Regions from separate parts of the Homo sapiens genome. Here all the other regions are linked to region 1. Evidence: promoter capture Hi-C in human tissues and cell types (Jung and others, 2019). All regions are on one chromosome and are shown on one strand. Each heading gives the region's core, a stretch centred on a gene start or on the middle of the fragment in contact. The rest is flanking DNA. Distances are from core to core; before and after follow the strand shown.

What was found. Contacts are between HindIII fragments. The study calls those that stand out against the background at their distance.
Region 2: the fragment with the promoter of SPTBN2 here is called in contact with a fragment that was not itself captured in region 1 in 1 of the 25 tissues and cell types used here (dorsolateral prefrontal cortex).
Region 3: a contact is called between the fragment with the promoter of RPS6KB2 here and a fragment that was not itself captured in region 1, in 1 of the 25 tissues and cell types used here (dorsolateral prefrontal cortex).

The regions. Positions count from the first base shown.
Region 1 is chr11:67,111,393-67,115,276 of GRCh38, forward strand. It overlaps LOC107984341 (a long non-coding RNA gene), which reads right to left. Exons shown (of 2, transcript NR_160735.1): 2 at 900-1,263. Among named protein-coding and RNA genes, the nearest start is that of KDM2A, 5.9 kb to the right of the region's middle. The HindIII fragment of the contact is 5,381 bases long and covers 1-3,884 here.
Region 2 is chr11:66,727,105-66,730,988 of GRCh38, forward strand. SPTBN2 (spectrin beta, non-erythrocytic 2) reads right to left here and starts at 2,112. Exons shown (of 38, transcript NM_006946.4): 1 at 1,637-2,112. The HindIII fragment of the contact is 42,487 bases long and covers 1-3,884 here.
Region 3 is chr11:67,425,860-67,429,743 of GRCh38, forward strand. RPS6KB2 (ribosomal protein S6 kinase B2) reads left to right here and starts at 2,635. Exons shown (of 15, transcript NM_003952.3): 1 at 2,635-2,764; 2 at 3,123-3,163; 3 at 3,261-3,381; 4 at 3,668-3,736. The coding sequence starts at 2,687. RefSeq lists enhancers at 2,179-2,328, 2,345-3,112, 2,429-2,678, 3,113-3,880. The HindIII fragment of the contact is 10,585 bases long and covers 1-3,884 here.

The DNA.
Region 1 (3,884 bases), core at 858-3,357:
GCCCAAGATTCACATACCTCCTGGCTTGGTTTGCAGTAGTACAGGATTTGGTTTCTATCACTTCTATTCCAGCTGCAATGACAGCTGCAGGAACAGTTTCTCTGCAACAATTACTATTACATCAACCTTCTCTGCTCCAGAACATATGTGCCTCTCTTGCTCTCACAAAACCAAGCTTCTCTGCAAGGATTCAATGCTCTCCAGCCTTCATATTCCTTCCCTCAAAAGCAACACTGCACTACTTTATTGGCTGATTCAATAAATATGAAGGAATGAGTGCCAACTATGCCTGGCACTGTTCTAGGCATTGGGGAATCCAGCAATGAACAAAACTTCCTGCCCCACGGGGCTTATATCCAAGTGCAATTTGAAGACCAGTTCTTATGGTCTAAATGATCTTCCAGCAATTCATTGGAATGATGATTGTTCTCTGAGTATGTCACATCTTCATGGTGTCCTTTCTTCGATATGAAGTTTTCGAAGGTAAAAGTCAAGCCTTCTAACTTTTCAAATCTCCTTTCTCTATCCAAGCACTTAATTTAGCATTGGGCACAGTGTACTCAGTAAGTACCCAAATCCTACATGTAGGAGAAAAAGAAACTGGACAATGCATTGTACACTTAAAACTTTGTTAAAATGGTAAATCTCACATCAAGTGTTCTTACCACAATAAAATAAAAATAAATTTAAAATAGGAGAACTGGCCAGGTGCAGTGGCTCATGCCTGTAATCCCAGGCACTTTGGGAGGTCAAGGCAGGAGTATCACATGAGGCCAGGAGTTCGAGACCAGCCTGGGGAACATAGTGAGACCCTGTTTCTATGAAAAAAAAAATTACCAAGTAAAAAATTTTTTAAAAATAGGAAAACCAGAAATCCTTTTTTTTTCTTTTTTTTTTTGAGATGGAGTTTCACTCTTGTTGTCCAGGCTGGAGTGCAAAAGCGCGATTTCGGGTCACTGCAACCTCTGCCTCCCGGGTTCAAGTGATTCTCCTGTCTCAGCCTCCCAAGTAGCTGTGATTACAGGCATGTGCCACCATGCCCAGCTAATTTTGTATTTTTAGTAGACATGGGGTTTCTCCATGTTGGTCAGGCTGGTCTCGAACTCCCAACCTCAGGTGATCTGCCCACCTTGGCCTCCCAAAGTGCTGGGATTACAGGCATGAGGCACTGTGCAAGACCTCAGAAATCCTTTCTAAAATAAGTTGTCTTCTAGTTTCCAAAGGGTATTCATGTCCATTAGTCCATTTCACTCCACAACAATCCTAGGAGGAAACAGGGCAGGAGTCACTACTTCTGTTTTATTTATATACATTATATATATAAAATATATATGTTTTAAATATATGTTTTATATATATTATATATATTTATATACATGTATTATGTTTTATATATATTATATATATTTATATACATATATTATATATAATATATATTTTTTTGAGACAGAGTCTTGCTCTGTTGCCCAGGCTAGAGTGCAGTGGCACGATCTCGGGCTCACTGCAACCTCCGCCTGCCTCCCAGGCTTAAGTGATTCTCCTACCTCAGCCTCCCGAGTAGCTGGGAATACAGGCATGTGCCACCGCGCCCAGCTAATTTTTGTATTTTTAGTAGAGATAGGGTTTCACAATGTTGCCCAGGCTGGTCTTGAACTCCTGACCTCAGGTGATCTGCCCGCCTTGGTCTCCCAAAGTGCTGGGATTACAGGCTTAAGCCACCGCGCCCAGCCTACTCTGTTTTATTAAAGAGAACTGAAGTTCTGACGGGTTCAGAACCTCTCACAAAGTGGCTGAAGGAACACCAGCTTTAGCAGAAACTGATGAAAGGTAGCGAATGCCCTTGAAGAAGATAAAAAAAGATCAGACTCATTGGGAGGGGCTAAACAGGTCTAAGTGCTTAAGCATTTGGCCCTTTGGGGAAGTGGCTGGAGCCCTGTATGACTGTCACCACCAACCCAAGCTGGGAATCTAGTGCAAGGTTGCAAACAGACCCTGAAACCCCAGGGTGCCAGAAACTTCCCCCAGCAAGCACAGGTGTAGCTGAGGCACAGGCTCTGCATCTTAGAGCTCCACTCTCGGGCACAGCAGGAAGTCCCACCCTTTTAGAAGTGAGAAATGAGGGTGGCCTGGCCCCAAAGCGAAGCTAAGGCTGCTAAAGAGCAGGTGGGGCCCAGACACTGCTGCAGTTGCCCCAACAGCCAAAGTACACCCCAGCGCTCAGGAGCAGTGGGTCTGCACAGCGGAAGGTGACATACCTGGAAAAGATGGCAGCAAGGAAGCATGGGGCCAGGGAGGGTGGTGGTCCCATGGTCCCAAGGAAAGCGTCAGCCACATTCCATGCAAGAACCTCATGTGACACCCATGTTTGATGATCCAAGAATCTGCAGGGCATTTCTGCTTCATTTTTTTCCCCCTGATCAATTCAGGTTCCAAACTCAAAAAAAAAAAAAAAAGAAAAGAAAAGAAAAAAGAAAGAAAACTTTCAGCTGGGCGTGGTGGCTCACGGCTGTAATCCCAGCACTTTGGGAGGCGGAGGTGGGTGGATCACCAGGTCAGGAATTCGAGACCAGCCTGGCCAACATGGTGAAACCCCGTCTCTACTAAAAATACAAAAATTAGCCAGGCACGGTGGCGGGCACCTGTAATTCCAGCTACTCAGGAGGCTGAGACAGGTGAATCGCTTGAACCCAGGAGGTGGAGTTTGCAGTGAGCTGAGATCGCGCCACTGCACTCTAGCCTGGGCAACAGAGCGAGACTCCAACTCAAAAAAAGAAAAAAAAGAAAACTTTCTATCACTTAAAGCTTATAATCACCCCCCAACACCCTTTAACCCTAGAAGAAGTTTTCTTTCTTTTTTTCTTTTTTCCCGGGGTGGGGGGTGCGGGTGGAGGGAGATGTTCAGGAAATGGTTAAGTAACAAAATCAGAGAGCACGGGATTGAGGTGATTAAGGGCAACAAATGGATGGTAAAGGAAAGTGGGAAAGCCATTCAGTCAGATGATACTGGGCCAGGAGAGTGAGATGAACATGGAGGAGGGGGTGGGCCAAATGATGGAGAGAAGGCTGGAAAGAAAGAGACTTCAGGAGGCAGGTGATGAGGAGAAAGAGGCAGCTGGAGTCAGGGAAGAGGGAAGAATAGAAAGCGGAGACACCAGGGTCGGGGGTCGGGGAGAGAAACCAGGAGTTAGGATAGGGAAGAGGGCCGGGTGTGGTGGCTCATGCCTGTTATCCCAGCACTTTGGGAGGCAGAGGGGGGCGGATCACCTGAGACAGGGAGTTTGAGACCAGCCTGGCCAACATGGTGAAACCCTGTCTCTACTAAAAACACAAAAATTAGCCAGGCATGGTGGCGGGTGCTTGTAATCCCAACTTCTCAGGAAGCTGAGGCAGGAGAATTGCTTGTACCCGGGAGGTGGAGGTTGCAGCGAGCCAAGATCATGCCATTGCACTCCAGGCTGGGTGACACGGTGAGACTGTCTCAAAAAAAAAAAAAAAAAAAAAAGGGAGGGGGAAGAGAATCGAGGAATAAGTCATCACACTTAATGTCTATGCAAACTCTTGACTCACATGAAAACTTCAAGTTTCTTAAATATTGAAGCATCTTTACTTAAAACCTTCCTTCCCTTCTTTTTTTTTTTTTTTTTTTTTTTTAGAGACATGGTTTCACTGTCACTCAGGCTGAAGTGCAGTGGCATAGTCATAGTTCATAGTCCAACTCCTGGGCTCCAGCAATCCTCCACCTCAGTCTCTTTTTTTGTTTGTTTTTTTTTGAGACGGAGTCTCCCTCTGTTGCCCAGGCTGGAGTGCAGTGGCGCGATCTCGGCTCCCTGCAACCTCCGCCTCCCTGGTTCAAACGGTTCTCCTGCCTCAGCCTCCTGAGTGGC
Region 2 (3,884 bases), core at 862-3,361, 380 kb before region 1:
CCTTCCCCAACCCGGGGTCACATCAATTTCTCTAAGGGAAGAATGTAAACTCCATCCTATCTTCTCCTCGGCCAATCCTTTGCCTTTCTGAATAAGCCAAGAGGTTGCCCCACACCTCAAGCTAAGACACATATTTGGAACTCACTCTGCCCCTCTTCACCTTCAAGGAAAACTGGTTTGTTGCTACCTCTGCCCATACCTGAAACCCCCGGGCTCTCCAGCGTTGGAACTGTGGCTGCTCCGAGAGGGGGAGGGCAGACGACATGTAGCAGGTTAAGACCGGGGCAAACCTGCACCTCACACAAGCATGCAATGTCCTGGGGTCAATGGGGTAAAGTTCCAAGCGAGTGGAAGGTAAATCACGACTGTGGCACCGGAGCCGGAACACCCCCGCGAGCAGGCCTTGCTGGGTAGTTCCGTGCGGGGCGGACCGCACAGCCCTATCAGCTTCCTGGCCACAGAAACGCCGCACGCGGCCGCTTCCCCGCCGCCCGAAGCGTCTGCTTTCTCCCCGGGCCAGTTCCGGCCACCACAGCCAACCGCGTGCCCCTCTCCCACACACTGTGGGGGAACAGAAGGGAGCGCGTGGAGCCAGCTGCCAAAGAGGCGAGGAGGAGCCCACGCGGCTCCGGGGAGGAGGGAGCCCGGCTCCCGCAGTCCGCCGGGCAGAGGCGGCCGAGCGCGCCCCCAGCACCTGGCCCGGCGCCGGCCCGTCCGCCCCGCAGCCCCGGCGACGCGAGGGGCCGGCGCTGTCAGACCCGCTCCCAGCCTCGCCGCGAACGTGTCCGTCAGCCCTAACTGTTCCAGACTCTTCTCCCGGCTCCAGAGAGGCCCGAGTCCCCCCCCCTCGGCCTTGGCCCCCACCGCCCTCATCCCGGTACCTGTGTGGCTGGCACGGGACCCTCTCCGTCCCGTCCCCGCCTGCTCCCGCCCCGGCTCACCCCGGCCGCCGGGACCCGACCCCGACCCCGACCCCGACCCCGCCGACCGCACGCGGCCGGACAAAGCGCGCCGCCCCGCGGGCCGGGACAAAGCGGGCGGGGCGCCGGCACCTACCTCGGCGCGGAGCCGCGGCCGGGCGGGCGGGGGCGCGGCGGGCGGGGGCGCACCGGTAGTTGCCGCGCCTGCAGCCCGGCCGCGACGGGCGGTTGCAGGCAGCGGCCGGGCGCACGGCGGGCGGCGGGCGGGCGCTGTCACGGGGCGCAGGCGGCGCGGGGGGCGCGCGGGGCGGGCGGCGGCGGGGCGCGTGGCGGCGGCGCGCGGGCGCGAGCGGCGGGACTGCGGCGCCGCGGAAGGAGGACAATAGCCTCCCCCTGCCGCAGGCCGCCGGCTCCCGCGGGAGGCCCGGGACCATCTGGAGCCGGCGGCCCCGCGGGGCTCTGGGCGGGGCCCGAGTCGCCCCTTCCCCGCCCAGCGCCATGGCAACCGAGGCCCCTCTCGGTGCTCCCCGCCGCTCCCCGCCCGGGGTAGTTGACCTGCCTCGGGGCGAACGCGGCAGCAGCTCCGAGGCCGGCTGCCGACCCCCAGCCACCTTCCGTGCGGGGTCCCCCCAAAACCCCGCCTTCCCGTCCTCGCTGGTCCCTGGGTCCCCCACCACAGCTTACAGGTCTTGATCTCCCCGGTTCGGACACCTCACCTTTGTCCCTATTCTGCTTTTCCTCCAAAATCCGTATCCCCGAGACACGCGATCCTTCCTCTAATGACACTGCCGACGAGGTTTCCCGAGATCCAGCCTCCGTTCCCCTTTCCTCTCCGGGCACCTCCAGTCCGTCTCCGCTAAGCATTCCTCTCACCCGTCCCCTCGCTCTCGCGTCCTCCTTCAGGCAGCTGGGCCGGCTCTCCCTCCCAGAACATCTCCATGGCACAGTGAAGATTCGTCTTCTACAGATCAGATGCTCCAAACAGGCATCTCAGCGCTTCTCAGCTCCTCTCATTTATCAACCAGGAGAATTCCGGCCTAGTCACCGTCTTGAGGGGGGTGGGGGTGGGGGCAGACATTTCTAGGCCTGACACGGCTGGGTTTCTCCTTGGTTTGTTAGCGTCTGAGTGGTCTAAGGTCCAAGGTCCTTAACCAAGGTGAACTGCTGCCTGCTTAGGAGAGGAAGGAATTATGCCCAAATCATGACAAACTCACAGAGTGCCAGGTGGGTGCTAAAAGCGCATCATCTCATGTGACACTCCCACCCCCACTCCAGCTCTGAGAAGTAGGTGCTGTTCTTCCAGATTAGAGAACTCAGCTCAGAGATGAGCCAGTGGTAACAGGGTGAGCTTTGTACAGAGCCGTTAGGTTATGTACTGCCCCTGAAGATGAGGGCCCGTTTCTATCCAGGGAATGCCTGAAATGGTCAAGTAAGGGCACTCAAAGAATGGGCTTTGAGTGAATTATTGGATTTAAGGTTTTATAATAGATTTATGGGTAATTTAGGATTTTGCTCCTTTCTGAAAAGGTATGCATACTGAAACAAATATGTGCAATTGAAGTACTTTCCAGATATGGTTTTGACAACCCTAACTAGTGGTGTCATCTACCTCGCCTTGGTTTTCCTAGTCTATAAAATGGGTTGGGAGGAGGGTTGGGGAGTTCCATTGAAAGATTACTTTGAAGTTCTCTCCTAGCTCTGATATCTGTGCTTCTACCACGAAACTGGAACTGGCTCTCTGGTGTGTACCTCACAGTTAGCTGCATTTGAGGCTATTTATTATTATTATTATTTTGAGACGGAGTCGTGCTCTGTCACCCAGGCTGGAGTACAGTGGCTTGATCTCGGCTCACTGCAACCTCCTCTTCCCGGGTTCAAGCAATTTTCCTGCCTCAGCCTCCCGAGTAGCTGGGATTACAGGTGCATGCCACCATGCCCGACTAATTTTTGTATCTTTAGTAGAGTCAGAGTTTTGCCATGTTGGCCAGGCTGTTCTTGAACTCCTGACCTCAGGTGATCTGCCTGCCTCAGCCTCCCAAAGTGCTGGGATTACAGACGTGAGCTGCCGTGCCAGGCCTGAGGCTATTTATTATTTTTAATAGCCACTCTTTCAGGCAATGGCATTAAAGAAACAAGGGCATAAACTGCAACTCTTCCCAGAGGTAGGATTATGTGTTGGTTGGTTCGGGGGAAGGAGGCACCAACCTGTGCATGACGGTCATCAGGGACACTTGGTCAGGGACATTAAAGCTGATGGGATGAGAATCAGCTGCCCATGGCCAGGCGCAGTGGCTCACCCTTGTAATCCCAGCACTTTGGGAGGCCGAGGCAGGTGGATCGCGAGGTCAGGAGTTCAAGACCAGCCTGGCCAACATGGTGAAACCCCTTCTCTACTAAAAATACACAAATTAGCCAGGCGTGGTGGTGGGCATGAAATCCCAGCTACTCAGGAGGCTGAGGCAGGAGAATCGCTTGAACCCGGGAGGCAGAGGTTGCAGTGAGCTGAGATTGTGCCACTGCACTTCAGCCTGGGCAACAAGAACGAGACTCCATCTCCAAAAAAAAAAAAAAAAATTAGAGAATCAGCTGCCCTGCCAAAGGAACTGGAACCACCAAGCTGCTGCTGCTGTACTGGTTACGGGAACTAAGGGTCTCAATGACAGCCTATAATATCGTGACCCAATTAGAAGTCAAGGGTATTAAGTCTTATGATTAGCAAAATAATATCTTTTATAATTTCCTATTTTCAGCATTTCATAATCCTTCAAGAAGCCTTGTAAGATAAACATTCTCATTCTTATTCTATTGATGAACAGACTGATGTTCAGACACCTAAGTGAATGTACAAGTTCACAGAATTAGTTCATGGTAGAAACTCCAGGTCTTCTGAATCCTAATATGTTCTTTCCTCTCTGCTAGACAGGGAGTATAGCAGAATGGTTAAAAGCATTGATTTTGGAGTCA
Region 3 (3,884 bases), core at 1,385-3,884, 310 kb after region 1:
CTGCATGCCTGGAGACCCCTGAATTCTGTCCACCTCAGTTCATACCCAACCTCCCCTATGCACATGGAAGGCACACCTAGACAGCCTCCAACAATCAGAACTCACACCCAAGGCCTGGTCTGACCCAAATTCACACCCACACATCCCCATCCAATAAGAATCCATACCCAATCTTTTTTTTTTTTTTTGAGACAGTTTCACTCTTGCTGCCCAGGCTGGAGTGCAATGGCACAGTCACGGCTCACTGAAACCTCTGCCTCCCGGGTTTAAGTGATTCTTCTGCCTCAGCCTCTCAAGTAGCTGGGATTACAGGCACCCACCACCACACCCAGCTAATTTTTGTATTTTTAGTAGAGACGGGGTTTCACCATGTTGGCCAGACTGGTGTCGAACTCCTGACCTCAAGCGATCCACCCGGCTCGACCTCCCAAAGTGCTAGGGTTGCAGGTGTGAGCCACCGCGCCCCGCCAAATCCATACCCAATCTAAAGTCACAGACCACATGTCACAGACAAGATTTGCTGTGTTGAGTGTGTTCATTCCTTCTTTCTTTTTTTTTCTTTTTTTGGAGACGGAGTCTCACTCTGTTGCCCAGGCTGTAGTGCAATGGCGTGATCTTGATTCACTGCAACCTCTGCCTCCCAGGTTCAAGCGATTTTCCTACCTCAGCCTCCCAAGTAGCTGGGACTATAGGCATGCACCACCACTCCCGGCTAATTTTTGTATTTTTAGTAGAGACAGGTTTTCACTATGTTGGTTAAGCTGGTCTTGAACTCCTGACCTCAAGTGATCCACCCGCCTTGGCCTCCCAAATTGCTGGGATCGCAGGCATGAGCGACCCTGCCTGGCCTAAGTTCATTCTGTCAACAGCGTTTTTGGTTTTTGCTGGGTGTAGTGGCTCATGCCTGTAATCACAGCACTTTGGAAGGCCAAGGCAGGAGGATCACTTGAGTCCAGAAGTTCAAGACCAGCCTCCTGGGCAACAAAACAAGACCTCCCCTCTAAAAAAAAAAAAAAAGAAAGAAAGAAAGAAAAGAAAAAAGATTATGTGATTATGTCATTCCAGTTACTTGGGATTTGAGGTGGGAGAATCACTGGAACCCAAGAAGTCAAGGCTGCAATGAGCCACGATCTTGCCACTGTACTCCAGCCTGGGTGACAGAGTAAGATCCTGTCTGAAAAACTAAACAAAACAAAGAAAAAAAAACCATAAAGTTTTTTTTTTTTTTTTTTTTTTTTTTTTTTTTTTTTTTAAGATGGAGTCTCGCTCTTGTTGCCCAGGCTGGAGTACAATGGCATGATCTTGGCTCACCGCAACCTCCGCTTCCCAGGTTCAAGTGATTCGCCTGCCTCAGCCTTCCCGAGTAGCTGGGATTACAAGCATGCACCACCATGCCCAGCTAATTTTGTGTTTTTAGTAGAGACGGGGTTTCTCCATGTTGGTCAGGCTGGTCCTGAACTCCCGACCTCAGGTGATCCGCCTGGCTCGGCCTCCCAAAGTGCTGGGATTACAGGTGTGAGCCACCGTGACCAGCCAGGTTTTCGGGTTTTATCTGTTTGAGACTTGGTCTCACTCTGCCGCCCAGCCTGGAGCGCAGTGGTGCAATCTTGGCTCACTGCAACCTCTATCGCCCGAGTTCAAGCGATTCTCCTGCCTCAACCTCCCGAGTATCTGGGAGTACAGGTGCGCGCCACCACACCCGTCTAATTTTTTGTATTTATAGTAGAGGCAGAGTTTCATCATGTTGGCCAGGCTGGTCTCCAACTTCTGACCTCAAGTGATCCACCCACCTCGGCCTCCGAAAGTGTTGAGATTACAGGTGTGAGCCACCGCCTCCGGCCTGTTTGTTTTTTTGAGACAGGATCTCACTGTGTCACCCAGCCTGGAGTGCAGTGGCACCATCATAGCTCACTGTAACCTTGAACTCCTGGCCTCAAGTGATCCTCCCAACTTGGCTTCCCAAAGTGCTACGATTACAGGCGTGAGGCATCGTGTCCGGCCTCAACAACGTTTTTTGAAGTGTCTATTCTGTACCAGGTGCCTAAATGTGCTTAAATTAAGAAGGGAGTAAACGCCAACAAAATCCCATATTTACAGGTCTATCACTGACCCCCAAAACCCTATTTAAGGCGGGAACCTGGCAACATAGCCTGGCAGTGAGCTGGCCACTCAGTAAATGCTCCGATTTGCAGGGTCCTCGAGCCAGAGGCACTTTGAGGAGACCCTGATGCAGCCGCCTCCCTTTCTGGAGTGAACCGAAAGCAACGCGACCTGCCTTTCATCACGCAGCCGGCCTGGCAGTACCCGTCTCCAACAGGGCTGGGGATTGCATTTACATTCACACCTGCATACACTTCCGACCCTGCTCCATCCAAACTCAAAACACCGTAGAACCAAAACGGGCTCCCAGAAAGCCTTGCTGGGAAGACCGAGGGTCCTGCGGAAAGGATTCTGCAGGCTGAAGGCTAGGCGCCTCGCCACTCTAGGACTACAATTCCCGAGAGGCCTTGCGACGGAAGCCATCTTTGTTCCCCACCAGGCTAAGCGATTTTCCGGAGGGGGAGTAAGATCCCTTGCGTCACCGGCGCGCGCAGCTGCCGTCGCGGAGAGATGATGTTTAGGTCCGGGACTGTCAGTCAGTGCGCGGCCAGGTACGGGCCGACGGGCCCGCGGGGCCGGCGCCGCCATGGCGGCCGTGTTTGATTTGGATTTGGAGACGGAGGAAGGCAGCGAGGGCGAGGGCGAGCCAGAGCTCAGCCCCGCGGTGAGTGCCCTGCCCTGGCGCGACTGGATCCTGGAGCCGATCCTGTCACCCAGCCGAGGCCGGAGCGGCGGCTCCGCACGCCCAGAGCGGGCTCCGACTCTTTGCAGACCCAGATCCTTCTCAGATCCCGGTCTCTATTAAGTTCTGATCCCACCCTCACCCCGACCTCTCTTCCAGAACCCCAGCCTTTTCTCCCGATTCTCCCTTTCCTGCCTTCGGTTTCTTCCCAATTCTTACCCATCCCCTACTAGCTGCCATCCCTGACACCCTTCTCTCCTGGGCCACGCAGTCCAACCTGAACGGGAGCGGGGAGGTATCCTGGCACCTTCCTTGGCTCTTACCCCTCGGTTTCTCACAGGACGCATGTCCCCTTGCCGAGTTGAGGGCAGCTGGCCTAGAGTGAGTGAGGGTCGTGTTGGGGGAGGGGGGAATGGAGTGGGGAAGGGGAACTGGGGAGCACTGGAGCCTTGTCCTCATTAACTCCTTGTGTCCGTAGGCCTGTGGGACACTATGAAGAGGTGGAGCTGACTGAGACCAGCGTGAACGTTGGCCCAGAGCGCATCGGGCCCCACTGCTTTGAGCTGCTGCGTGTGCTGGGCAAGGGGGGCTATGGCAAGGTAGGGGCGGGCGCACCCTCCTCCTGGCCTCACAGCCTCCATCTGGAGGCAGCAAAGGGTTCTCAAAACAAATTAGACTTGTGAATCAGCAGGGCCTCTAATGGGATTCAGAGCCAGAAACATAAAGGAGGGAAGGCCAAATCCTCTCCAATCGGACTTGAAATCTTCACTGCCCCACCCTTGGCAGGGCCTAGGCCTCCTGATCCCAAAGCCAGAGCTTCAGGGTGGGGCTTCTTGAAGATAGGATGTGGAGAGGGAAGTTGATCCTGTCTCCCCTGCCCTACAGGTGTTCCAGGTGCGAAAGGTGCAAGGCACCAACTTGGGCAAAATATATGCCATGAAAGTCCTAAGGAAGGTGAGTCACTCGTTCAGCCAACGAATACTGTGTGGCTGCCATTCCCAACATGCTGTACCAGGCTTTGGGAAGACAGCAGGGAACACAGTGGAGGAGGATCCCTGACTTTGGCGTTTGCTGGTTTATTGTCTGTTGTGATGTGTATTGT